Regions from separate parts of the Homo sapiens genome. Here regions 1, 3, 4, 5, 6 and 7 are each linked to region 2. Evidence: promoter capture Hi-C in 16 types of primary human blood cells and fetal thymus (Javierre and others, 2016). All regions are on one chromosome and are shown on one strand. The core of a region is centred on a gene start or on the middle of the fragment in contact, and the rest is flanking DNA. Distances in the headings are between cores, read along the strand shown. Region 1 has its middle 64 kb from the start of ABCD3. Region 2 holds the start of SLC44A3 (solute carrier family 44 member 3). Region 3 overlaps ABCD3 (ATP binding cassette subfamily D member 3). Region 4 overlaps ABCD3 (ATP binding cassette subfamily D member 3). Region 5 has its middle 33 kb from the start of ABCD3. Region 6 overlaps ABCD3 (ATP binding cassette subfamily D member 3). Region 7 has its middle 9.5 kb from the start of ABCD3.

Region 1 (3,701 bases), core at 164-2,663, 470 kb after region 2:
ATCTATAAATTGAGGATTGGTATTTCCAAAAGATAAATACATCACCCTGACCATCTCCTTAGTGTTGAACTATTCCATTAAGAAACCAGGAGGACTGTCAGGGAGCAGAACATTCTACCAGAACACATAAGCCATTCATAATTGGAGCTCCTCCAGCATTTTCCCCATCCCTATTATCACTTTTCTATATCTTTTTTTTTGGTCTGGAGAAAATAATATTTGAATTTTTAAAATATAAAATAAAAAATTTCTTCTAGAGTGCACACAAAGAAAAATCCCAGTCCTCTGTGAGCATCCTCTTCTTTAGCTATTCACATAAAGACAAGACCTCTCAAGCCTCTGACCTTTATCTTCAAAGCCCAGTGTGAGTTGAAAAAGAGACATTATACTTTTTTGCACTCTAAATTCAGATAAGTTTGAACTATCTGCTTCATTTTAGTTCTGTTTAAAAGGAAGCTTCAGATGTTTATAATACAAAACATTTTAGGAGAAAAAACCCAAGTCCTCCATGTTTAGACATAAGGAGATCCTATCACACTTTAGATCCTTTACCATTTTAGAGTTTCTCAAATGTGAAGTCTTCCTCTCTCCACATCATTCAAGATAACACACCTTCTTTTTCAGATAAATCTAGAAATGGGTTATTTAACATTATTTCTCTTCTTGATCCTTATGAAGTGACTTCAAACAGATTAGTGTTGAAAGAATGCTGCCTCAGGATTAAGCAAGAGTACATGCCTGACTTAATCAAATAGAACCATCCACTGATAACCTCTGCCTCAGATTTAGAATCCCTTTCACCTGTCCCCTAGATGCTTTGATTATTTTTCAAATAATTCTGAAAATTTGCCAAATAATTTACTGGTAATAGTGGTAGGCGTGGAGCATGGGAGGGCTGGCAGGGAAAGTAAGTTGCTAAAATGTTCCTATGCAAAGTCCAGATCCTCTTCCAATCACAGGCTAGGAAGAATGTGATCAACAGCCTAAAACTCTCAATGAGGAGGGGGGAAGGGACTGCTCAGGACGAAGGGCAGGGGGAGCAGAGGTAAATTGATTGATCTTGTCTGGTAATCATGTTCCTTCCCACTCCCATGTTACACAATGAAGGGGGAAACAGTGCTGATTATCAAAGGAAGAATATATACAGCTGTGCTAGGTTCGGGAGTTTCCTATCACAACATAAGCTTGGTAAATATATGTGTGGGGGGATGTGTCTATCTATTTGTCTATTATTGATCTTCCTATTTACTGTCTGCCTACTTACTTATCAAAATGTAGCAATGAACTCTAAGTTTTACGTATATAATATATGCATATATATCACATAGTCCCCGAGACAGGCTTGAGGAGAGCTTGTCTATTTCCTCAATGGCAACAGGACTAATATAAAAGCTCCCAGTTGCTGCCAGCCAGTTCTTAAGGTCCTTAAGAGGGTCTCTCCTGAAAGGCAGGATTTGGCTCACACAATAGATGTCATTTGAATAGGGTGACCATATCAAGGTGCTTAAAATACACAGAATATGAAATAAGAACTCACGTTTAACTTTTGGCTGCCTTTCTAGGTATTCAAATGGGAAATGACATTAGATGTTAATGTCTGGACTCCTGGTCCCTGCAGGTGGGCATGGGAGAGTGAAGCTTGCCTGAAGCAATAGATTTGGAGGCTAAGGAGGTCCAAAGCCTAAGTCTTGGTTGAGGCAGCCTTGAGAAGCAACGTGTAGTTAGTATCAGCTGCAATGCTTTAGGTTGCAAGTGACAGCCCGGTGCAAAGTGATAGACGAGTGGTTAAGTCTACGGATTTTGAGCCAGCTCTAGATTCAACCCTAGCTTTATCCCTTAACTAGCTGTGTGACCTGGGCAAAATATTCAAGCTCCTTGTATCTTAGTTTTCTTGTGTGCAAAATGAGGAAAATAGTGAACTTGATAGGTTTCTTATAAGTTGTAAATACATGGATTTATTTAAGGTACTTGAAGAGTGCCCAAAACTTAGCTCAATGTATGTTAACAAGTAATAGAATTCTCTACTCAAACTGAGTCGAACATTTAGAAAATGTATTATATATTTCTCTTAACAGGAAGCCCAGAGGCAGAGTGGGCACCACAGTTGATTGACTGAGCAGGATGACATTGCCGCCATCTCTCCATTCTGCCATCCTAAATGGGGGCTTCGTTTTCAGGCTGGTAGTAAGATGGCTACAGAAGATCCTAACATCACATTATGAGATAGGATATGTTTCCTTCTGTGGCTTTCTTTTAAAAGAAAAGCGTTAAGTCTGGCACAGTGTCTCATGCCTGTAATCCCAGCACTTTGGGAGGCTGAGGCAAGAGGATCACTTGAGCCCAGTAGTTTGAGACCAGCCTGGGCAACATAGGGAGACCTCATCTCTACAAAAAAATTTAAAAATTAGCCAGGCATGGTAATGCATACCTGTGGCCCCAGCTGCTTGGGAGGCTGAGGCTGGAGAGTCACTTGAGCCCCGGAGGTCGAGGCTGCAGTGAGCCATGATGGCACCACTGTACTCCAGCCTGGGTTTCCTCCTTAGACTTCTAAATCCTCATTGGCCAGAATTGGTCTTTTGGCAAAGGGAGTGAATAAGTTTCCCTTAGACTGATCAATTTCACCTCTGGAGCTGGGGGTGGGATCAGCTTCCTCTCACTGCTTGGAAATAAGCGAATGTCTGAATGGTGTTGCAGTTCCATCAGGAACCATCATGAAAGGGGTGGGAAAATGGTAGAGAATGAATACTGAGTAGCCAACCAATAATGACCACTACAACTATTGTGGACAAAGACCAAGAACAGGCTGAGAGAGGATGGCACAAGAGAGTACAAGAGGCAGAGCCTGGAGAGACCCATTGAGGTAATTTCCTGTTTAAAGAGCCTGTCTGTGGCCATCATGCCTGTAATTCCAGCACTTTGGGAAGACAAGATGGGAGAATCCTTTGAGCCTAGGAGTTTTGAGGCTGCACTGAGATGTGATTGCAGCACTGCATTCCAGCCTGGGCAACAGAGGGAGACCCTGTCTCAAAAACAAAAACGATAATGAGCCTGGCCAAGCCCGCTGATGGGGAGAGAGTTGTGGAGGACAGCAAATACCACCCTAGTCCCTCATTAATCCTTCTTTTGAGGTTGGAAAGGAATAGGATTATGCTAAATTCACTTGGTGGAAAACTTTAACCCACTAGGAGCATTATGAATAAGATGGAATGATGTCAAGAGCTGTGAAGTGTCTGAGATTTTACCCTACTTGCAATCTAACAAGTTAGCTTGTCATAGTTTCACGGATACTAGCAGAAGACTTGAGACTCCTGGGTCAGAGTTAAAGGCCTTATTATTCACAGCAATAACAGTAGCCAGAGTATGAGGATTTGTGCTGGTTCCCCAAGCCCCGATTCCCACAGGGTGATGCAAAAAGAGTCAGGTGTTATGTGATGGATTACATCACAGAGGAGAGACCCTAAGGTCCAAGAATCCAGATATTTTACAAAGGGGGCTGGGCTCAGTGGCTCATGCCTATAATGCCAGCACTTTGGGAGGTCGAGGTGGGTGGATCCCTTGAGGTCAGGAGTTCAAGACCAGTCTGGGCAACATGGCAAAACCCCATCTCTGCTAAAATACAAAAATTAGCTGGGCGTAGTGGCAGGCGCCTGTAATCCCAGCTACTCAGGAGGTTGAGGCATGAGAATCACTTGAACCCGGGA
Region 2 (3,863 bases), core at 466-2,965:
AAAACACCAACCATCTGCGAAGTTAAGCAGAAGGTATTGTAGGTGCACTGTCTCTCCCAGCTCCTAGGGGAGAGTTCCAACGTAAGCAACAAAAAACATCTGATTATGTGTTTCAGACCTAACCTTCCACTGTGCCTGTAACCAAGCCTGTCTATGTGAAACGGGTCATAAGTGAACAAATGCCTTTCTTACTTGGAAAGAACAAACATGATATTTTAGGGCCTATTCAGATGGAATTCTTTTCAACAAAGGTAATTACTATCTGGTAGTTATTACCCTGCTCTATAAATTAATCATTTACCATGCAGCAAATAGCATGCCTTATCCTGGCATGGATGATTTCGTGAAAGTGGCCTTTGAAAATGTCGGGTGAGACGTTTTCTGCTGTTACCTACAATTCTAAAATAAGTATAAAAGCAGCAAGATTCGGCTTCCAACAGACTCTCTCAGGATTATAACCGCATAGCCTGATGGAGTTTACCAGCAATCATACATACCTCGAAATTAGAGTGGGAAAAATCATTCCTTGTTAGCTATGGTTAACAGTGTTGGCTGCTAAACACAACATATCTCTCGCGCGCGTGTGTGTGTGATGTTCAGCTAAAGGAAATGCAGTTTATTTCTAGGCTTACCCTGGCTTTTCCTTTGTTAAAGGTGCACCAAAAGCTTGAGGAATATTTGATTTGGGGGTGTGGCAGGTGCTAAAAGAACTTCTGTTCAGTAAGTTCGGAGAGTAAAAGGAGACACATTGGCCTTACTAAATAGCAATCACATTGCAAACTGTTAATTCCCATTTCCTAATGGAGTCACCCCTTAGAACATGGCCTGTAGCAAAAAGACAGCCTTTCTAGCGAGTCTAGGACAAGAATTCTCCCGAGTACAAACTGATGTTTATTGTGGGTTAACGGCAGAAGTCTCTCACTGCAGCACCAACTACGATTTACATTTGGGACAGAGTTATTTCCAGACGTGCACACACACTCTGGCCTCTTTCCTACCAAGCACCCACACTTACCAAACCAGTCCAAAAGAGAAAGAACAGGAATAACCATGCCGTATCTGTGCATTTCCTATAAATCTGGGGTCGCCACTCCCTTTGCCTAGGGGCTCCTTCTGCAGAAACCTTCCAGAAAAAGGGAGAGTTGAGAAAAAGAAGATAAACAGGTGGACTCAACCTGGAAACCGAACCCAAATCTACTCGAAGAGGGGCCAAAGTAACCAATCTTTTTCTAAATTTTTAAAATTAATATTATTTTTTTACGTGGCCACCTGAAGCTCTTTCACACAGCCTTTGAAACACCTGCTCTGCGCGGAGCGGATGTTAAGCCCCCTGCCGCCAAGTGCTTACCTGGAGGTGCACCTGAGGACGACCCCAAGTTTGCGCCCCGCGGCCCGCGTCTCCCCCGCCTCCGCCCCAGCACTGGAGCAGGGTCCAGGTTCCTCCCCGCCAGGTGGCCCCAAGGTACTAAGCGGGGGCGGGATCCCCGAGGCGCGGGAAAGGCGGAAGCGTCCGGCAGGGAAGGTGCGTGAAGGCGGGGGACTCGACCCTTCCCCGGGGCTCCTCCCCCGAGGGCCGAGGCTGCGAGCGCTTACCAGGTACTCGGCGCCCAGGCAGTGCATCGTGCGCTCGCCGGCGGGGGCCGGTGACTGGGAGCCGCCGCCGCCTCCTGTACGCGGAGACGCAGCGCCCGCGAGCCGGGGCCGGGGCCGGGGCTGGGGCTGGGGCTGGGGCTGGAGCCGGGGCCGGGCCGGGGAGGGGCGGGCACGGTGCAGCGCCGCCTCCCGTTCGCCTCTGCGCCTGGCCCGGCGACTGCGGGCGCTGCGGTCCACTGGGTCCGCCTCTTCCCGGCATGGGTTTCTGCCCAGCTCACCCGCTGTCAGCTGGGGTCCTGCTCTGGTGGGAGGAAGAGGCTCAGACGCTTCCCTGCCCTCTCGCCTCAACCACCTCGAGGCAGCGGCTCCCAGGATGTGCACTTTGACGACTAAAGCTGAGCCGGCGCCGCCACGACCTTGGGCGGGTGGTCGGCCTCTGCCCTGAGCAGGAAGTAGAAAGTCTCAGCAGACCCTTCCTGAGGGCCGAGCAACAGTGTAGTGGCGTATTCCACATAGCAAACAGGTAAGCAGCATTTACTGTGTGCTGGATTCTGTTCTCACTGCTATTGTTATTCCTAATCTACGGAGGAGGGAAACTGAGGCACGGCCATTGGTGATGCAACTTGTTCGAGGAGACCCAGTAAGTTGTGGAGGCAGGAGTCGAACCCAGACACTCCGGGAGACCGGCGCTCTCGAGGTGGTTTACTCTGACTTCTCTCCCACCTTGCCTTAGGACAATCATTGCCTGACTTCGCAATTGAAATGGTAGTGTCCACTGAAGCGACTGGTGGCATAGTTTTCCAGGTAGTGTCAGACCAGCGCAAAAGCACTGTTGGGGTGAGGAATTTAAAAAACGAAAAACAAAAAAAACTGCAGGCCGACCTCCCCCCACCTCCTCTCAATCAAGCCTCTACCCTTCCCCCTGCCACCCTTAGGGTTGCTAGGTTAATTGCTTCCTTTAGGTGCTGCTTCTCCCTAAGGGTAGAAACCTGACTGGAGGAAAGATCTGGGTAAGTGGGAGAAACTGGGAATGATAGACAGTGGTTCTCTGGTGCCAGCGATTTCCTTCTGGGCTCACACCACCCTCCCACTGCAAACTCACTGGGCCTTCCTGGATGCATGTTTATCAGACAGAGTAGGTGAAACCCCAGGGGAACATGAATTCATAGGACAAAGAATTAGACACTGGAGGAGTGCAACTACTGTTAAAAGACCACAACTGAATAACATATGCCATCTGAAACTGATCAGTAGAGCAGATGGACCAAGATTTTTAAATAAGCATGATAAATTTATTTAAAATGAGTTATGATATTAGCAATATGAATCAGGAAAAAATATGAAACTAAAACATATTAAGCATAAAAATAATAATTAGAATGAATATTGATGCTACGTATTAGTAATGTGCAATAGTCTAAAAGATGCAGCTGACGATGAATTAGTAATTGGAAGAGCACTTTCAGCAAACCTCCAGAGGCAGTAGAAAATGTTTTAAAAAACAAGTTAGCTTATTTGTAAATTTTCTAGCTTATATCTAGGGTAAAACTAGAACAGAAAGGAAGAAATATAAAAACAGAGAAGGGGAAATATTTGAAGATATAATGGAGATAAATTTCAAGGTAGAAAAAAACCTTCAGATTGAAAAGGTTTATCTCAAGCAAAATGTTTCTATATGTAAGTATTTAAAAGCATAACTTTGAACTTATTTTCTATTAAGCCATATTGTCATTAGAATGTGAGAATGTATTAATAATAAAAATATTCTTATGAAAGATTCATTTGAATGACATTCTTGGAGGACATAATCAAGCAAGAAGAGAAACAAATTCAGGAGATGATACAATAGATATAGCATGAGAGTGGCCAAATATTTAGGCTGAATTTATTGTTGTGTTAGAAAAAAGACCAGGAACCACCCAAGTGTCCAGGAACTGGTGGGTGGCTATACATAACTGTGATGCATCTATACGATGAAATACAACTAAGCATTAAGAAGGAACAGACTTCTTACATATGCAAAAACATGGATGATCTCAAATGCATGTTAAGTGAAAAAAAGTCAGATATAATAAGCTACTCTATGATTCCATTTATGTGACATTCTGGAAAAGGCAGAAAATAGATCAATGGTTGTCAGGTGCTGGGGGTGAAGGGAATCTGGAGAAACTTTCTGAAGTGATGGAAATATTCCATTATCTTGAGAATGGTACTGATGACCCAGTGGTATCTGTTTGTCAAAATTTGTAGAACTGTACACTAGAAAAGGT
Region 3 (4,013 bases), core at 538-3,037, 380 kb after region 2:
GACAATGAAAGCATGTGAGAAACACATTCCTACAAGATATAAAAACTATAACCTATGATGTCAAAATAATCCAGAAAAAATTAAGAAGCAATGCTAGCCAGGCACAGTGGTGTGTGCCTGCAATCCCAGCTACTTGGGAGGCTGAGGCTAGAGAATCACTTGAGGCCAGGAGTTCAAGGCTGCAGGAAGCTGTGATTGCACCTGTGAATAGCCACTGCATTCCAACCTGGGGAACACAGTGAGAGTTTGTCTCTAAATGAAGTACAAGAAGCCAATGCTAGACATAAACTCACAGCATAAAATAATATTTTTTAAACTTACAAATGTGGTGATAAAATATTAGAAATTTAGAAAGAAAAATAATTTCAAAATTGAATATGAAACCATAAAAAGTACAAGGGCAAATAAACACAACAGATAAAACATGAAAGTAAATATACAAATTATATACAAATATACAATTTCATATATTCAAACAAAACAGAGTATTTTTTATTTTTGATAGAGTCTCGCTCTGTTGCCCAGGCTGGAGTGCAGCAGCACAATCAGTTCACTGCAACCTCTACCTCCCACGTTCTCCTGTATCAGCCTCCTGAGCAGGTGGGACCACATGCACATGCCACCACACCTGACTAATTTTTGTATTTTTAGTAGAGACAGGGTTTCATCATGTTGGCCAGGCTGGTCTCAAACTCCTGACCTCAAGTGATCTGCCCACCTCAGCCTCCCAAAGTGCTGGGATTATAGGTATGAGCCACTGCGCCCAGCCTAGAATTTTTTTTTAATGTGAAAAAAAAATCCTTTGGATACACAAAAGACCAAGTCATTTAAAAGGGAAAAGCAAAAGAGATTAGCCACAGACTTTGTTAACAACCCTCAGTGTCAGAAAACAATAGAGTAACATATTTAAGATATTCAAGAAGAGAAAATGTGAACCTAGGATTTTACATCCAGACAAATTTTCAAGTACAAAGGTCACAGACAAACTGTTTGCAACATGAAACAATTCAGAGATTATTGTTCCATGAGCTCTTCCTGAGGAATTTACTACAGAACAAGCTCTGGACAAGAAGAATGACTATAAAGCCAGTGACCTAAAAAGAGGTAGTGAGCACTCAATATGGATTTACTTGCAGAACTAGGAATAAATGAGAGTTAAAAGGGAAAGAATACATAGCAGTGTACCCTCAAAGACACTTCACATTCAGTTCCAGACCACAGCAATAAAGCTAACAGGCAATAAAGTGGGTCACGTGAACATTTTGGTTTCCCAGTGCACATAGAAGTTATGTTTACACTATACTGTGTAGTCTCTCAAGTATCCAATGACATTACGTCTAAAAAAAAAATCAATGGACATACCTTGGTTTTTAAAATACTTTATTGCTAAAAAATGTTCATCCTTTTGCTGGTTGAGGGTCTTGCCTCCATGTTAATGGCTGCTGAACAAACAGGGCAGTGGTTGCTGAAGGCTGGGGTGGCTGTGGCAATGTATTAAAATAAGACAGCACTGAAGTTTGCCATAGTGATTAACTCTTCCTTTCACAAAAAGAGTTCTCTGTGCCATACTATGCTGTTTGATGGCATTTTACACAATAGAACTTTCAAACTTGGAGTCAATCAATCCTCTCAAATCTTGTCACATCAACCAAGTTTATGTAATATTGTAAATCCTTTGTTGTCATTTAACAATGTTCACATCATCTTCACCAAGAGTAGATTCTATCTGAAGAAATCACTTTCTTTGCTCATGCATAAGAGGCAACTCTTCATCCTTTCAAGTTTGTGTGTGTGTGTGTGTGTGTGTGTGTGTGTGTGTGTGTGTGTATGTGTGTGTGTGTGTGTGATGGAGTCTTGCTCTGTTGCCAGGCTGGAGTGCAATGATGTGATCTCGGCTCACTGCAACCTCTGCCTCCCAGGTTCAAGCGATTCCCCTGTCTCAGCCTCCCAAGTAGCTGGGACTACAGGCGCATGCCACCACACCCGGCTAATTTTTTGTATTTTAGTAGAGATGGGGTTTCACCATGTTGGCCAGGATGGTCTCGATCTCCTGACCTCGTGATCTGCCCGCCTCAGCCTCCCAAAGTGCTGGGATTAGAGGTGTGAGCCACCACACCTGGCCATCCTTTCAAGTTTTATTATGAGATTGAAGCAATTCTGTTGTATCTTCAGATTCCACTTCTAGTTCTCTTGCTATTTCTATCACATCAGTTACTTCCTCCACTGAAATCCTGAACCCCTCAAAGTCATCCATGAGGGTTGGAATAACTTCTTCCAAAATCCCATTAATGTGGATATTCTGACCTTCTTCTATGAACCACAAATGTTCTTAATGGCACCTAGAGTACTGAATCCTTTCCAGGTTTTCTATTTATTTAACCCAGATCCATCACAGAGATAACTATCTATGGAAACTACAGCCTTCCAAAATGTATTTGTTAAATAATAGGCTTTGAAAGTCAAAATTACTCCTTAATCCATGGGCTGCAGAAAGGATGCTGTATAAGCAGTCATGAAAACAACATTAATCTCCTTGTACATCTCCACTAGAGCTCTTGGGTGACCAGGTACATTGACAATGAGCAGTAACATTTTGAAAGGAATCTTTTTTCAGAGCAGTAGGTCCCAACAGTGGTATTAAAATATTCAATAAATGATGCTGTAAACAGACGTGCTGCTATCCAGGTTTTATTGTTCCATTTACATGTAGGCAGAGTAAATTTAGCATAATTCTTAAGGGCCCTAGGATTTTCACTATGGTAAATGTGTATTGGCTTCAACTTAAAATTGCTTGCTGCATTATCCCCTAACAAAAGAGTCAGACTGTTCTTTGAAGCAAGGCATTTACTTATCTTCTCTAGCTATGAAAGTCCTAGGTGGCATCTTCTCCAATAGATAGCTGTTTTGTCTACATTGAAAACCTGTAGTTTAGTATAGTCCACCTTTATCGATTATCTTAGCTAGATCTTCTGGATAACTTGCTGTAGCTTCCACATCAGTACTTGCTGTTTCACCTCGCAATTTCATATTATAGAGATGGCTGCTTTCCTTAAACCTCATGAACCAACCTTTGCTAATCTCAAACTTTTCTTCTACAGCTTCCTCACCTCTCTCAGCCTTCACAGAACTGAAGAGTTAGGATCTTGCTCTGGATTAGGTTTTAGCTTAAGGGAATGTTGCAGCTGGTTTGATCTTCTATCCAGACCACTCAAACTTTCTCCCTATCAGCAATAAGGCTGTTTCTTATCATTCTTGTGTTTACTGAAGGAGCAGTTTTCCTTCAAGAACTTTTCCTTTGCATTCACAACTTGGCTAACTGGCACAAGAAACCTAGCTTTTGAATTTCATGGCACCCCAAAACAATTACAATAGTAACAACAAAGATGTCCAATCACAGATCATCATAACAGATATGATAAATGAAAAAGTTTGAAATATCACGAGAATTACCATAATATGATACAGAGACATGAAGTGAGCACATGCTGTTGGTAAAATGGCTTCAATAGACTTGCTCAATGCAGGGTTGCCACAAACTTTCAATTTGTAAAAAACACATTACCGCCAAAGCACAAAAAAGTAAAGTGCAATAAAATGAGGCATGCCTATATCAATATGCTCTGACAACACAGATACAGTACAACCAAAAAATAAGGAAGAATGGAAAGAGCCTATGTGAAAAAAATTTAACTATTTTCAGTAATCATATTAATAGTAGAGATATTTGTATTATTATTTGGAGAACACTGAGTGTGTAAAGTGGGATAACGCAACTGAATATTTCCGTGATACTCTAATTTGACCATCAACTGTGTCTTTGAGAATCAGGATTATCAGTTTGGGATACAAGGAGATACAGATGTAAATAGAAGATGATAATTTAAAAAATCTTGAAATCTTGTATGTGGATTGGAAGTGTCAGTATGCATATCGTGGCTCTGTCCATAAGAAAAGCCTAGAAACAACTGCCAACCTAGTAGCAATGAGCATCCCTAAATTCCAATTGTGATCTT
Region 4 (3,872 bases), core at 444-2,943, 340 kb after region 2:
GGCCAACAGCCAGCACTTTCTAATCCACATTATTACTAGGATAGATGGCTTGGTTTGTTAACTGGCTTGTTTCAACATCTACCTTTCCCTTTCCTTTTTTTTTTTTTTTTTTTTTTTTTTTTGCCTTATAAGTTATCAAGAAGCTAGAGATACTTATAAAATTCAAGAACTGTTAAAACTTATGACAAAAATAATGACTCATAATTTAAGTTGGAGGTCAATTAGATGTTTAAAACATCTAACTTACACACTGGTGTACAGCCCCACTACAAGTACTTAATTTAATATTCTTCTGTATTCCAGATTTGACAAAACCTGAGACTTGCTCAAGTGCCAAGATTTAAAGAATACATAATAATGTCTATAAAATTACATGGAAAGTTGTATAGATACACCCCCCATTCCCACCATGCATGCATGCATACACACACACATACACACACAGAGACAGAGAGAGAGAGAAAGAGAGAGAACAAACTTTCAAATGTGGTAATGGGAACAGAAAAGAAAGCTTAATTACTGAACTATTTGTAGTTGTCAGAGTTCCCGAGTTTGGGATCAGTTAGCAAAGGCTTCTGGAGAGCTAAATAAATAACAAAGTTGGGCTGGAAGTGAAAAGCATTGGGCCTGGGCATGAGGAGAGCAGCTCTTGTGGATATATATCTCTAAGAATTGCCTTCCCTCCATCCATCTGGTTGAAGCAAGAACATTCCTATTCTTACAATGTGACCCAGTCCTTTTTATAGTTTTGGTTTTCTTTTGTCTCAAAACTGTATATCTAGGTCAACTGTGACCAGAGGCAAAGATACTATCATTGGTCCAGTATGAGACAAGCTCCTAGCCAACACCAAGGGAAGTCACATGAGTTAGAGTGGGAACTGAAGCATCTCAGATGAAGAGGGGAGGGGATGCTGGGCAGACTATTTTATAGGTGCCTACTACATATCATAGTCAATGCAAGAGGTAATGGCAAAGAAGAGGGTTTAATAAGAAGACTACAGCAAAAGCTGTAAGGGTGGTGAGATAACATGACTAAGATAAGAACTGGAGAAATCAGTGAGAAGAAGGAAAACTGACTAAGGCCTATCACAGTCAGGAGCTTTGGCAATATTCTGAGGAGAATGGGAAAAACAGTAATTAGAAAACTGAAATATACTTGCATCTTGTGAAATTTTTTGACTACTACTTACTAATGATCTATTAGAATTAAAGATACTGAAGCAGAGAAATGGGCAGAAAGGAAGTCCTAGTCTAGTGTTATAAGTGTGGAGTTAGAAACATAAATTGACAGTCAATCTCTAACAATGGCCGGATGCACACAGGTCAAAAGATGAGAATTCAAATTTCTGTTGTTTTAATGGAATCAACCTGCAAAATTCTTAGAAAATCCTTATAAGACACTAAATTATCAGTTCTTTGCCAAAGTACCTCACAAAAATAATAGAAAAAATTAAAATAATTAAAACTATTACAACAACTCTAATTTTCTTATAAAAGCATTAAATATTTACATGCTGCTGTTATGTCCACAAAATCAATTCTATATAAATTTGCTTAGATTCAAAATTCAAAAAATTAAACAAATAATCTTTTAAAAAGGAGAGAAACTTACCTTACTAAGATTTGAATACAGATCGACTACACTGTTACAAAATTTTTCTACATCTTGTGTAAGCAGCTGGTCTGGATTAGCTATTCTGTTGTCCAGATTCCCCATTTTATAATATGTGAAAGCTCTAAAATAGCAAGAAGAAAAGTGATTTTAAAACAAGTGACTTTAAAGATAAAACAACAACAAAAAAATCATATTACACCACCTAGCTCAAATACATAGAAACAAAAAAGTTTGGAGCCAGAAGAGATCCTATTGATTGCCCTAACTGATTTTTAGAGAGGAGGACACAAGTCCAGAAAATGATGACTTGTCAATTAATGGAAGAGCCAGGACTAGATTCCAAATAACTGAAAGGTTGTTCCCAACATGCTTCTGTACCTAAGAGTGGTTTTCTTAGAAAACATACAATAAATAAGAAAAACTGCTATATTGATCAGCTTCATAAATACTCTTCTATTTAAATATTTTTAATATAAAAATAGGTTATCACTTACTGAAGATACTCCTCATAGAGGTATTTAGTGAGCCTTACTCGGAAGCACAGTTTAAGCTCATTTAACCCATACTTCAAGAAGTTATTAACCAGAGAGATCTAAAACAAACAAACAAATATTATTGGTTTTGCTTTTCATTTCTGCTTACTAAACTATAATTTATTTCTCTATTATTTCCTGTGTCCCAAATCCTACAATTTTTATAATTTAGTCCAAATTTATATAATTCAGTTCTGTTTTACTTTACTGCATTTAGCTAAACCAAATGTACCTCGTTTGAATTATTCTATGTTAAAGTTTACATGGAATATGTTAATATCACTAATTACGCGACATACCTTGCCCATTTTTTTTGGTAAACGGGCAAAAAGTCAAATATATCCCCTTTCTAGCCAATGTAAAGACTTGCTTTTAGGAGTTCAGACATTTATATTTTCTGTTTCCTACTATCAGCACTACAACCCTAGACAACGGAATTCTATATACACTATATTTGCATTTGTTAAAAAAAAAAAACACTACAGGTTTTACACCAACTAATGCTATTTTCCAGATTATTTCTAGAGCCATCTTTACTAACATTTTCCATCGTTACATTACAAATTTTCTCAAGTGGTCTTTGCTGAATCTTAATCTTTGATATCTATGTTGCTTATTCCAATTGTTTATTTTAAAAAGTCTAAAAGCTATGTAGCCCCAGCTTCCAGCTTTATTAAACAAGAATTTCTGGCAATTTCAACATAACTGGATTTTACAACCAAGCTTCTCATTTTTACCCACAAATTCAGAATATTACATTCTTACAGCGCCAAGAAAATTAAAATGAGAACCAACCTAAGAAAATCACTTATATTTTAGACTAAACAATTTATCTGTAAAAAATTCAGACCATAAATTCCAATTTAACTTAAAGTAAATTAGTAGTTCAAGTTACTGTAATAGTTTATGGCCTAAAGTAACCAGGATGATTTGCATTCCCCCCTCTAAATCCCCCCAACTCCCCAAGTTGCCCCCTGCCCATACCCATTTTGCAATGACTGGAATCATTTCTGGTTGTTAGAACTAGGAGAAGGGTGCTACTGCTATCTAATGGTCATTGATGATGCTAAACACTGAAGAAAACCTGGACTGAAGGTTAAAAAAAAAATGCCAAAAAACCCCTCACCCACATACATATGTATATGAATATATATACACATTATAAATGAAATTAAACCAAACATAATCCCTTTTTTATCTAGTATGAAGGTTTACATTGAAAATTATATTATAAATTACAAAACTAAACTGAAAATAGGAACTTAGTATCATAAGTCTTTAAAGAATTTAATAAGTAAAACCCTTAAAGATTTTAATAAGATGCAAATTTCCCGTGTTAAAAAGATTTTTAATGAATTAAACTTACAAGAGGCATGGCAGCGATGAAGTTGAGTAAGTATCTCTTGAAATCTTTCCTGCTACGACCAATGATACCACTGCAAACCACCACATGCAATGCATTAGTTGCAAAAGAAGCAAAATCTAACACTAGGAAAACTTCTGTAAAGCTCTAAAATTACTCTTGGAAACTTCTATTAAATCAAAACAATCAATAAAAAAGATGCTAAAAACCACTTTTTTGCAAAAACATGTTTGCAACTTTAAAATGTCATCATTTTGAACTTGCTGGAACCTCATCCTGCAAATGGCAAAATTAAACAGAATGATAACTAATTATTTCTTAGTAAAAATGGCTGCTTTAAAAAAAGGCTTAAGTGGCTACA
Region 5 (3,669 bases), core at 319-2,818, 430 kb after region 2:
CATCAAGAAGGGAAGGGGTAAGGATGAGAAGGAAAATGGGAGAAATATGGAGAGAGGAGAGAGCAAGGTTGTCAGTAGCCTGGTGCCATGTGGGATGCAGCAGGGAGCTCCAAGAGCTTATAGAAATGGAAATGGTTACCTGTTAGTGTCTTTTAAAAAAATGCCCCAGTTAAGGCACCATCACTGCTTCCAGTTTCCACCAAACCAAAGTAAATAATGATGGTATGGACTATTTCAAACTACTCAAGTCCTGTTGTTAAATAGAGGCTCAGAAAAGTGAAGTGGTGTCAGAGTGGCAAATGGCAGAGTCAGAACACACACCCAGGCACTTGGCAATAACACTGGGGAAGGTGTCAGACCTTCCGTAAATTGTGAAATAAAGGTTTAAGCATATTTAGCAGGAAAAGCTTCGCATAGAAAAAATGTTCCAAAATACAGAACCAAAGCTAAATAATCTCTGTGAGCACATCTACTGAAAAGAAAATGTTAACAAATCAAGGAGATAGTTAAACTTCTTATAGCAGCTCCAAATAATCATCATAGTCTCTCAGAGACACAATTCTAAAAATTAAACAGAATAAAAGAAATGCTGCTCATTGAAAATCTTAATTGACCCAGTAAATTTTATTTTATTTTATTATTTTTTCTTTTGAGATGGAGTCTTACTCTGTCACCCAGGCTGGAGTGCAGTGGCTCAATCTCAGCTCACTGCAACCTCCGCCTCTTGGGTTCAAGCAATCCTCCTGGCCTCAGCCTTCTGACCAGGGAGTTTTTTAGTCATCAAATACTCAACTGACTGCTTAGAAAGTTCAAATTGTTATATTTATAATTCTCATATTGACTACAAAGGATTCAGAAAGTATAAAAAGTTATTATACTAATCCTACAGCATTTTTACTGCCTTTTGCCAAATTTATTGTATATATTGACTTGTGATATTGTTATGTATCTACCTGTATTTTCCCTTCCACTGGATTAAAGTTCAGCTTTGCATTTCTGCAAACTGCCTTGTAAATAATAAGTAGCAAATATATGCCAAATTAAATTGATAGTCTAGCGGTACTAATAATGTGTAATAGAAGAGATTAAAACCCAGGTTATCTTAGTAATTTGACACTTGCTTTGAAAAGTGTGAGAATGTGTTTTTGAAACTCTACGCGTATTGTTTCTATTATGAAATTAAAATATAATTTAGGAAGCCCTGAATTAATATCACACCTTTCTTCCAAGAAGCCTGTTGCTCATCATGGCCTTCAAGGCCACTGTTTAAGAAATAGATGGTCATTGCCAATCCCACCACCCTTCTACCCATCCATGGCCCAGAGAAAGGAGTTCTTGGCTGTTCATCTTGCTTTGAAGGGAAATGTGGCTTTGGCAGCTGTGGGAAATTTCTTTTTTTCTTTGAAACTTACATATAAAACATATTGAGAGAAAGAAAGAAAGAAAGAAAGAAAGAAAGAAAGAAAGAAAGAAAGAAAGAAACAGATTCTAAAAGTAATCTCTTCACTTCTAAAAATTTGGAAACTATAGTACGTATCAGGTATCGAGAAGGAAGTGAATATAACTCCTATAAGCTAACTTTCTAGTCTTTTTTTCTTGAGCATTTTTTTTTCATGGTTAAGATTACACACTGCACATTCTACTTGGTAACCTGCTATATATAGACATATATCTATATGCATCTCCGCACCATTTATGAGAATTGATGTCTTTAGTGACACAGATAAACATCTCTTAAAGTTGGGTTAGGGTGACAGTTCTCAAGCTATGGGTAATGATTAAGAGCAGATTCATAAGTTAGACATAGGAGCTTTGAAATGTAAAGTTCTTTGGAAGATTAGCTACGCATATTTTCCATGGACAGGAAAATGGAACTCATCTGTGTTTGAGGCCATGGCTGACACATACAGAGTACCTCTGTACCACCAGGTGCATGACAGCCAGAGAAATGGCAACAGATGGCAGGGGTTGGTGTCAGTGGCTCCTGGTCAGGTGGTAAGTGCTCTGTGCAACAGCATGGGTACAGTCCTCTGGCCTCTTTCTTCTTAACTGCTCCACATCAAGTGTGTTCTCTTGACACTTTTGCTCTCCCTCTTTTTTCTCAGCTTGCTCTCTCTCTCTTTGCTTTGTATTCTGGAGTCTCCTCACATGTTGTAAAATCAGAGGTCTCCTTCCAGTCCACAAGTGTATTTTATTTGCTCAGGACACTTTCTAGACTTCCTGGAATGCCAGTTCCAAGATAACCTCATTTGTTCCCCAACACTCACCTCTCGGGATGGCCATGTGCCCCTTCTGTCAGCTAAGAGAATGCCCCATTCTTCACTCTGGGAACAAGTCTCCCCAAGGTGTTTCAGAGAGAGCAAGATTTAATCTGCCCAGATCTGGTTCCTGCTACAGGAAAAACTCAGTTCTCGGGGATTCATCTGTGCAGCTGCCACTCTACTTCCTGTTCCTGGCTGCTATCAAAGTCATTCACACCAGACATCATTTTTTTAAAAAAACAGGTTCAGCCTTTGAACAATGTATCTGCTCCTCATGTGTGTACTTTAGGGCTGGGTAGGCCAGTAATTCCTCTTCTCTCCATCTCTTAGGGACTTTGGAGAAAGGCCCAGCCTTTTTGCTCTAACTATGCTTAGCATTGCCTCCCCTGCAGCCTCTGAGCCGCCACTCACACCTAAGAGTAGCTGTCGGCATTAAGTGGAAACTCCCTCTGAGTTAAGAAAGCTTCTTTTCTCCCTCTGCTAGGGCTTTTAGAATTTTCCTGGTACATCTGACTCTGCTGGGTCTAGGAAGCACATTAAGTCCCACAATCCACCTGAGTAGTTAGGGTCTCAAGACATTATCCTTTGCTGCAGAAACATCCACAGTAGTGCAGAGATTGGCACCCACTACAAGCAAAAGGCTGGTTTCAGAAATTGTCTCTCTGAGTGTTGAAGTCAAGGTGGTAGTGTTGCCTAGGATAAAAAATGTTTATATTAACTACCCTTTATTGAGCCCCTAGGATGGGCCATGTGTTATTTAATTTTATTATATAATTATTTCATTTTAATCATTACAGTAACTATGTGAAAGTAGGTATTATTGATCCTAGTCACAATTGAATAGAAGCTGAGACAGACTGAGTGACTTCTCCAAAGGTACACAGCTAGTAAACGGCAAAACTGGAATTTAAACTCAGATCTGCTTGACTTCAGATCCTAGCTCTTAGTCACCATGCTAACAGCCTCCCACAGAGAAAACACTGAGATAAACTCCACTGGAGTAACAGCATAGGTCACATCATTATGAAACAGGCCATTTGGAATTTGCACTACCAGTCAATGATTTACAGGGTCCAACTACATGCAAAGTACACTGTCAGGTCTGTGAAGGACAAGGCAAATTATGATGAGATCCTTGCCCCGAAATTGAAGAGATGACATCAAACTGAATGCCGAGTGAAAATGCAAGTGTTAAAGAGCAACATCAGTAAGCAAGAGATACCACAGATAACTCATACAGAGAACTTACTATGTATCAGACATTCTTCGGAGCACTTTTTTTTAACTCTATTTTTTGATGTAGTAAAAAATACTAGATAACTTATCATTGTTTAAGTGTACAGTTCAGCATAATTAAATACATTCACATCGTTTTGTAATCTTGACCACTGTTCATCTCCTGAACTTT
Region 6 (4,207 bases), core at 400-2,899, 370 kb after region 2:
AGTTCAGTCACGCAAGATGAATAAGTTCTGGAGATCTAATGTACAGGATGGTGACTATAGCTTGATAATAGTAATCATTTCACAATGTATATGTATATCAACATAAAAATAAAAAAATTAGTATTCAATAAAAATGCCACACTGCTTACCACTAATAAATGTTATAAATTGATACTTAGAGATAAATGGAGATTCATGCAGTACGATGCTCACAAAAATATATATATACACATGTACACACACACCTACCAATGAGTCACATGATCAGTCAGCTCTCCCATCACTTCATCACTTTTCTCTCTCCAAGTTTCCATGAAATACCTTGTTCAGAGGGAACCATGACATCTTATAAAGCTTCAATTGGCCTGAACACATAATCTACATATAAGTCCTATTTTCTTTAATCAGTCTGTGACAATTAAAATTTCTTGCCAGGTGCAGTGGCTTACATCTATAATCCCAGCACTTTGGGAGGTTAAGGTGGGAGGATCACCTGAAGTCGGGAGTTTGAGACCAGCCTGACTGACATGGAGAAACCCCGTCTCTACTAAAAATACAAAATTAGCCGGGCGTGATGGTGCATGCCTGTAATCCCAGCTACTCAGGAGGCTGAGGCAGAAGAATCACTTGAACCCAGGAGGCGGAGGTTGTGGTGAGCCAAGATCGTGCCATCGCACTCCAGCCTGGGCAATAAGAGCAAAACTCGGTCTCAAAAAAAAAAAAAAAAATTCATTTATAAGTTTCTTAAAAACTTCTTTATGAGATTTGTTTCTCAGGAAGTTCTATGAAAATAGCTTTCACCTGAAATTATCACTATAAAAGATATTTTTAATGGCAAAACAATTCAGTATGAGTACAGAAGTTGAAGATGATTTTCTTGACTTTACATTAATACACATTAACCTGATATAAGTTCCAATACAGCAGATTTATCATACATGTGGGCTCTAGATGATCACTTAGCAACCATTTAAACACAATACTGGCACTAAAATCTGTATAGCATGGTAGTCATTCAGATAACCCAGAATATGCTTATATTAATTTATTTTTAATTTATCATCAAAATGAAAACAAAATTAGTTCTATAAAGAAAGTTCTAGGCCAGGTGTGGTGGCTCACGCCTGTAATCCCAGCATCTTGGGAGGCCAAGGCTAGTGGATCGCTTGAGGTCAGGAGTTTGAGACCAGCCTGGCCAACATGGCAAAACCCTGTCTCTACTAAAAATATAAAAATTAGCTGGGCATGGTGGTGTACATCTGTAATCCCAGCTACTCGGGAGGCTGAGGCAGAAGAATGGCTTGAACCCTGGAGGCAGAGGTTGCAGTGGGCCAAGATTGCACCACTGCACTCCAGCTTGGGTGACAGACCAAGACTTCATCTTAAAAAGAAAAAGAAAGTAAGTTCTATAAGAATTTAGACCCTGAGTAATGCATCTTTAGACCTACTATCTCTAGGTCAAAGAGATACTATCCTAGACCACCTCAGTCAAACCACAAAATCAACTATCTACCCTTTCTCTGACCCCCTCCCTCAAAATCTCTAGCTTCCTCCTCTTTCCCGAGCCCCTGACTTGAATATCTGATTTTTAATAAGGTATCTGTACCAGGATTTAATGCAAACATGTCTATATCTGAACTCACCTTTCCACCCCAAATCTATTCTTCCATTATTCCATACTGAACATAAGCCCTAAATCAGTGATCACACCTTCATCTACCAGCTACTCAAACCACAAAGCTGCGAATTATTCTAAGATATTTATTTTCCTTTTCTCATACACTTCATTTCCAATCTCTCTCTATGCTCTTTCCATTTCTACTGCTATGATTTCAATTCAGGCCATCAAAATTTCTCATGTGAACTATTATAATATTCTCACTTGTTTTCTGAGTTCGTTATCATTAGTTTCTGTCCTCTTTCAATTTATTTCCATAACCACATCAAATACGTGTATATGTATATACATACTGAATATACCCAAGTACATACACATATGCATGCCCATACATATATATATAGACCACATACATCTATATAAAATATATATCCTGTGGAATTCACCTAAAGCAATGCTCAGAACCTTATTTCAATAAAAAATGAAAAAAAAAAAGATTAATAATACAAGCATCCAACCAAAAGTTTACAAAGAACAAAAAAAAGCAGAAGAAATTTAAAACCACCCAAGCAGAATCTAATGAGTTAGAAAACAAAATACTAATACATTAAAATTCAAGAGTTGATTCTTTGGAAAATAAATCACGAGACAATCTGATTTTAAAAGGAGTACAAAAACACAAAAAATAAAAAAAATGAGCACAAAAATAGATAAAATTTGAAAAAAAAAAAGGTAAAAGACTTCTTATCTCAACTCTATGTAAAGAAATTTGAAAGCCTGAATGAAATGGTTAATTTTCTAGAAAAATATAATTTTCCGGCTGGGCGCGGTGGCTCACGCCTGTAATCCCAGCACTTTGGGAGGCCGAGGTGGGCGGATCACGAGGTCAGGAGATCGAGACCATCCTGGCTAACAAGGTGAAACCCCATCTCTACTAAAAATACAAAAAATTAGCCAGGCGAGGTGGCGGGCACCTGTAGTCCCAGCTACTCAAAAGGCTGAGGCAGGAGAATGGCGTGAACCCGGGAGGCGGAGCCTGCAGTGAGCCGAGATCGCGCCACTGCACTCCAACCTGGGCGACAGCGAGACTCCATCTCAAAAAAAAAAAAAAAGAAAAATATAATTTTCCAAACCTAGCAGAGAGAAGAAAAAACAGACTGAAAAACTGAAATTATAAAGTTGTCTGAGAGCTGCCCACCTCCTACCCTTCTATTCCCCAAAAAAGAACCAAACCAAACGATTTACCGGGGAGTTCTAACAAAACCCCCAGTGAACAGATAATTCCAATGCTTTAACTGTTTTAGGACACAGGTAAAAGAAGCTTCCACATTATTTTTGCTGCAAGTAAAACACTGACACCCAAACTTGGGCGGGCTCACACCTGCACTTTGGAAGGCCGAGCACTTTGGAAGGCCAGACGGGTGGATCCCAGTGCTTTGGAAGGCAGAGGCGGGCGGATCACTTGAGGCCAGGAGTTCAAGAACAGCCTGGCCAACATGGTGAAACCCTGTCTCTATTAAAAATACAAAAATTAGCTGGGCGTGGTGGTGCATGCCTGTAGTCCCAGCTAACTTGGGAGGCTGAGGCATGAGAATCACTTGAACCTGGGAGGCGGAAGTTGCGGTGAGCTGAGATTGTGCCACTGCACTCCAGCCTGGGAAACAGAGCAAGGCTCTGTCTCCAAAAACAAACAAACAAACAAACAAAAAAAAACAAAAAAAACCATTGACACCAAAATCAAATTCCACAAAGAAAACTACAAACTATTCCCACTTACACCAACATTTTTTTAAAATTTCAGACCATGCGAATGTACTGCCTATTCAAAAATTAGATAAATACCTTATCATTAAAATTTAAAAATAAATATGTACATAATGACTTTCAGAATAAAATCCAAATTCCATAAAATGGTACTCAAAGAACTTCATGATCTGGCTCCTGCCTTCTTTTCAGGTTCATCTCCTGCCACGAGGCACACTCTGTGCTCAAGTTACCTTCATCTATCAGGTTAAACTATGTGAAACTGAATTATTTGACCATTTCTCACTTATAAAATGGCAACTGCACATGCTTCAACCTAATACTGCGCTCTCTCTCACCCCACTATTTGCTCATATACTATCTCTTTTGCTTTAAAGGACTCTTCATCAATCAACTTATTTGATTACTACTCGTCTTTAAAATTCAGCACTTATCTTCCTGGAATGGAGTGGCCATCTGAATTAAGTTTGCCCAGAATGGTCCTTGTTTACATCTGTTGTCCTGATATAATAATTAATTGCACTCTTTCAGTCTCAAAACTGTACCAGTTAGGATAATAAATTACATGGTGACCCTGTCTAAGAAACCTTGACCTCAGTGATTAGAATGTATTAGGCACCCAAGGATTATCCCAAGATCAGAGATGATGAATGCCTGAACAAAGACAGTGGGTATGAGAGTGGAAGAAAGAAGCATGAAAATTACTAGAAATGACAAGTAAGGGAATAAATAAGAGTTGGGAACTAACTGCATATGGAAATGAGAGGGAGAGAAGACCACAAACTTAAGACAGAGGAAGTATTAGCAGCTATCAACTCCAAACTG
Region 7 (3,709 bases), core at 970-3,469, 410 kb after region 2:
ACTAGCTGTGACTGAACTGTCATTGCCCCAGCCTTCATGGTTCCTTCTATGACATGAAAGGGGTATGAAGTTTTGGGGTGAGGCTGAGATCTTCAGACCTAGGCGTTCAGCTGACCTGTGCACTATTCAGCTAAAGAACCCCTCTCTCCTCCAGCCTCTGTCAGGATCTTTTTAGTTTCCTTGAACCTCAGTTTCAGTCTAAGCTTTGATGATCAAAAGTCAGGAAGCCATCTACCAACCCCAGTGAAGGCAAAAAGAAGCACAGGCCTTTCTCTCTGAATGGGAAAAGAGAAGGGGAGAATTTTAGACAGAAAATATAAAACTGCTATTTCAAGAAATTATCCTGCTACTTGTGAATTGAGAGCCCACCTAAAAGGAATTCAAAAGTAAATAAAACAGTCCTACCCTCTTGAAATGAATAATCTACATACCATAATAATAATAACCACAAGGACCACTGTAATAAAAGTTGTGCTGGATATACAATCAAAGTACTATGGGAATCTATAAGAGAGTGAAAATTCCAGGCTAGGGAGTTGCAAGGAGGCAAGTTTCTGATGACATGCATTAGTTTTATATTTATATTAATTTTGGTTCTCTTGTCCCCTGTGTGCCACACTTGCATGCTCAGTTCCATTCATTTATAAAATTATGCAGTTACAAAGCAAATTGTAGCCACTATACAGTCTTGCCCTATTCAGCAACTCAGTGCTCAGCCATCCGTCTGTATATGGAGTCCATCTGTATATCCAGTCAACCAGACACAGCTCCTAGGGCTTGATAAAGCTTAGTTTGACTGGTTATTAATTCCAGTAGCACCGTTCCCATCTTAGGACCAAAGTGTTGCCTTGAACCCAGCTATGATTGGATACTTTGCTGAGCCTTATCAAGTCTCCTTCTCAGAAATAGAACTTTGCATAATACCATGCCCAGGCTGAGATGCTGCTCCCCACTGTCCTCATGTGACAACTGGCCACTATCTGATTCTGGATTCTGTACCACTATGTGCTACCCACCAGAGTGGAAAATTGCTAAAATCTGATGTGTCAGAAACGCCACAATGATGCCAGAAAGTTCTAAAATAAAAAGCTATGAAAAGCCAATGGAGTCTTTATTATTGCTGTTTGTATAATTTTTTAAAGTTGTAATAAGTAAAGTTTCACCGATATAACGGTATATGGTAATTATAAATTTCAGGATCAGAAAAATGTAAATTGGGTTACAATACAATGTGGGTCTAAATTAATTCATACTATATTGTCTCAATTGCCTATGTTATAAAATGTATCAATGATCTATCAGTGATTTATTAGGGAGAAAAGACCGAAATACAAAACAGTTAAAAAAATAAGATGAATTTTTATTTTAATTTTTAACTTTTGTGGGTATATAGTAGGTGTATATGTTTATGGGTTACATGAGATATTTTGATACAAGCATGTAATGCATAATAATCACTTCAGGGTAAATGTGGTATTCATCGTTGCAAGCATTTATCCTTTGTGTTACAAACAATCCAATTGTACTCTTTTAGTTATTTTCAAATGTACAATTAAATTATTTTTTACTATAATCACGCTGTTGTGCTAGCAAATACTAGATCTTATTCATTCTTTCTATTTTTTTATACCCATTAACCTTCCCTACTTCCTCCCCTCCTGCCACCCCCCAGATGATATATGATTCAGTGTAAAAAGGACCCCAGGAAAAAAGGCCTTAAAAGTTATAAAAAGGAACAGATTGATAAGGGTAGAATTAGTATAAGGAAAAGAAAGCGCATAGGAGTGTATAACAACATGAATGTGGTAGCCGACTTTATCAGGGTCTTATTGCAGTTTAACATAGGAGGAAGCCTTGTGTTCTCTGCCTGATTCCAGACTTAAGTTCCTCCATCCTTGTGTTTCATTGCAATGAAAACTCTTTTTATAATACACAATTATGATCATGTCAGTCTCTCATCTAAAATTCTTCAGCTACTCTCCATCACATTAAGAATAAAATCCAAACTTCTTAGCATGGGAGTATGCTTTTCTTAGTGTGGTCCTAGCTTAGCTCTTCTGCTCATCCAGCCATATGGATGATTTATCGTCTCCATATGGCAGGCTCTGCCCATTCTTTGCATTCTGATTTTTTTGTTTGTTTGTTTTTTGAGATGGAGTCTTGCTCTGTCACCCAGGCTGGAGTGCAGTGGCGCAATCTCAGCTCACTGCAACCTCTTTCTCCTGAGTTGAAGCAATTCTCCTGCCTCAGCCTCTCTAGTAGCTGGGATTACAGGCACCCGCCACTACGCCCAGCTAATTTTTTTTTTTTTTGGATTTTTTTAGTAGAGATGGGGTTTCACCATGTTGGCCAAGCTGGTCTTAAACTCCTCACCTCAAGTGATCCCCCCACCTTGGCCTCCCAAAGTGCTGGAATGACAGGCATGAGCCATCGCAGCAGCCTTGCATTCTGATTCTAGTAACCTAATCTGCTACCCTGATCCCGGTGTATATTGTCTTTCAAGACTTGGCTCAGTCAACGCTTTCTGTTATGTTTTCTCTATCTTTCTCTACCCTCAAGTCAAAATAAAATCTTCTTTGCTCCTCTATAATAGAAATGACAGCTCTGTATCGTACTGGTTTATTTACTTAACTTCTGCATCTCTTAGAGAATGAGTTCCTTCAGGAAAAGTTCTGTACGTTTTTTCTGCAAAGGGCCAAGTAATAAATATTTCAGGCTTCATGGGCCAGAGAACCTCAGCCACCACTATTCGGCTCTGCCGTTGTATCAGGAAAACAGCCAAAGACAATAATATAAATGAATCGGCATTGCTGTGTTCCAATAACACTTTATTTATGGACTCTGAAATTCGAATTCCCTGTAGTTTTCAAATGTCAAGAAATATTATTTTTTGTTTGTTGTTGTTTCTTTATTGACCATTTAAAAATGTAAAAGCCATTCTTAGCTTGCAGGCCATACAAAAACAGAAGGTAGGCCAGATTTGGTCCACAGGCTATAGTTTGCTGACCATCGCTTTAGCAGCAGGAATGAATTGATTATAAAATAACTACCAAGAACAAACTCGAGATCCAGATTCCTCAGTTTTTAGTCTAGCCTGGTGCTCCTGATGAGCTGGATAATATTCACATACACAAATCACAACCAGTTGTAAGATACAATGGTTGAGAAAGCCCCATTTATAATAGAAACAAAAAAGATAAAATATTTAGGAATAAACTTACAAGAAATGTGCAAAACCTATATGAAGAAAATTACAAAACATTCCTGAAACACAGAAAAGAAGACTTGAGCAAATAGAAAGACACCCCTTGTGCTTGGTAATCCCAGCGCTTTGGGAGGTCGAGGCGGGCGGATCACCTGAGATCAGGAGTTTGAGACCAGCCTGACCAATATGGAGAAACCCCATCTCTACTAAAAATACAAAATTAGCCGGGCATGGTGGTGCATGCTTGTAATTCCAGCTACTCGGGAGGCTGAGGCAGGAGAATCCCTTGAACCCAGGAGGTGGAGGTTGCGGTGAGCTGAGATCGGGCCATTGCACTCTAGCCTGGGCAGTGAGAGCAAAACTCCGTCTCAAAAACAAAAACAAAAACAAAAGGATGTTTCAATATCATCAGTATGTCAGTTCTCCCTAAGCTAATTTATAAGCTTAATGCAATTTTAAGAAAAAAATCCTATGAGGTTTTTTGTTGTTGTTGTTGTTGTTGTT

The links. Contacts are between HindIII fragments. The CHiCAGO score rates a contact against its expected background, and 5 or more counts as called.
Region 1: a contact is called between a fragment that was not itself captured here and the fragment with the promoter of SLC44A3 in region 2, in 1 of 17 cell types (M1 macrophages). The highest score is 5.6, in M1 macrophages.
Region 3: a fragment that was not itself captured here is called in contact with the fragment with the promoter of SLC44A3 in region 2 in 4 of 17 cell types (neutrophils, monocytes, total B cells and 1 more); the score reaches 9.2 in neutrophils.
Region 4: a contact is called between a fragment that was not itself captured here and the fragment with the promoter of SLC44A3 in region 2, in 16 of 17 cell types (neutrophils, total B cells, M2 macrophages and 13 more). The highest score is 24.8, in neutrophils.
Region 5: a contact is called between a fragment that was not itself captured here and the fragment with the promoter of SLC44A3 in region 2, in 3 of 17 cell types (neutrophils, endothelial precursors and M1 macrophages). The highest score is 6.0, in neutrophils.
Region 6: a contact is called between a fragment that was not itself captured here and the fragment with the promoter of SLC44A3 in region 2, in 8 of 17 cell types (neutrophils, M2 macrophages, M1 macrophages and 5 more). The highest score is 10.6, in neutrophils.
Region 7: a contact is called between a fragment that was not itself captured here and the fragment with the promoter of SLC44A3 in region 2, in 1 of 17 cell types (total B cells). The highest score is 5.4, in total B cells.

Annotation. Positions count from the first base shown.
Region 1 is chr1:94,352,949-94,356,649 of GRCh38, reverse strand. No RefSeq gene overlaps it. Among named protein-coding and RNA genes, the nearest start is that of ABCD3, 64 kb to the left of the region's middle. The HindIII fragment of the contact is 454 bases long and covers 1,187-1,640 here.
Region 2 is chr1:94,818,209-94,822,071 of GRCh38, reverse strand. It overlaps SLC44A3 (solute carrier family 44 member 3), which reads right to left and starts at 1,715. Exons shown (of 15, transcript NM_001114106.3): 1 at 1,594-1,715; 2 at 1,016-1,123. The coding sequence starts at 1,620. It overlaps SLC44A3-AS1 (SLC44A3 antisense RNA 1), which reads left to right and starts at 1,840. Exons shown (of 6, transcript NR_160780.1): 1 at 1,840-2,116. RefSeq lists a silencer at 1,522-1,711. The HindIII fragment of the contact is 9,215 bases long and covers 669-3,863 here.
Region 3 is chr1:94,436,116-94,440,128 of GRCh38, reverse strand. All of the region lies in intron 1 of ABCD3 (ATP binding cassette subfamily D member 3), which reads right to left. Among named protein-coding and RNA genes, the nearest start is that of ABCD3, 20 kb to the right of the region's middle. The HindIII fragment of the contact is 5,440 bases long and covers 1-4,013 here.
Region 4 is chr1:94,473,478-94,477,349 of GRCh38, reverse strand. It overlaps ABCD3 (ATP binding cassette subfamily D member 3), which reads right to left. Exons shown (of 23, transcript NM_002858.4): 5 at 3,515-3,584; 6 at 2,110-2,207; 7 at 1,613-1,736. Among named protein-coding and RNA genes, the nearest start is that of ABCD3, 57 kb to the right of the region's middle. The HindIII fragment of the contact is 2,360 bases long and covers 514-2,873 here.
Region 5 is chr1:94,383,837-94,387,505 of GRCh38, reverse strand. It overlaps a transcript of ABCD3 not described here. Among named protein-coding and RNA genes, the nearest start is that of ABCD3, 33 kb to the left of the region's middle. The HindIII fragment of the contact is 2,317 bases long and covers 410-2,726 here.
Region 6 is chr1:94,451,847-94,456,053 of GRCh38, reverse strand. The region is part of intron 1 of ABCD3 (ATP binding cassette subfamily D member 3); the gene reads right to left. Among named protein-coding and RNA genes, the nearest start is that of ABCD3, 36 kb to the right of the region's middle. The HindIII fragment of the contact is 2,585 bases long and covers 357-2,941 here.
Region 7 is chr1:94,407,034-94,410,742 of GRCh38, reverse strand. It overlaps a transcript of ABCD3 not described here. Among named protein-coding and RNA genes, the nearest start is that of ABCD3, 9.5 kb to the left of the region's middle. The HindIII fragment of the contact is 2,862 bases long and covers 789-3,650 here.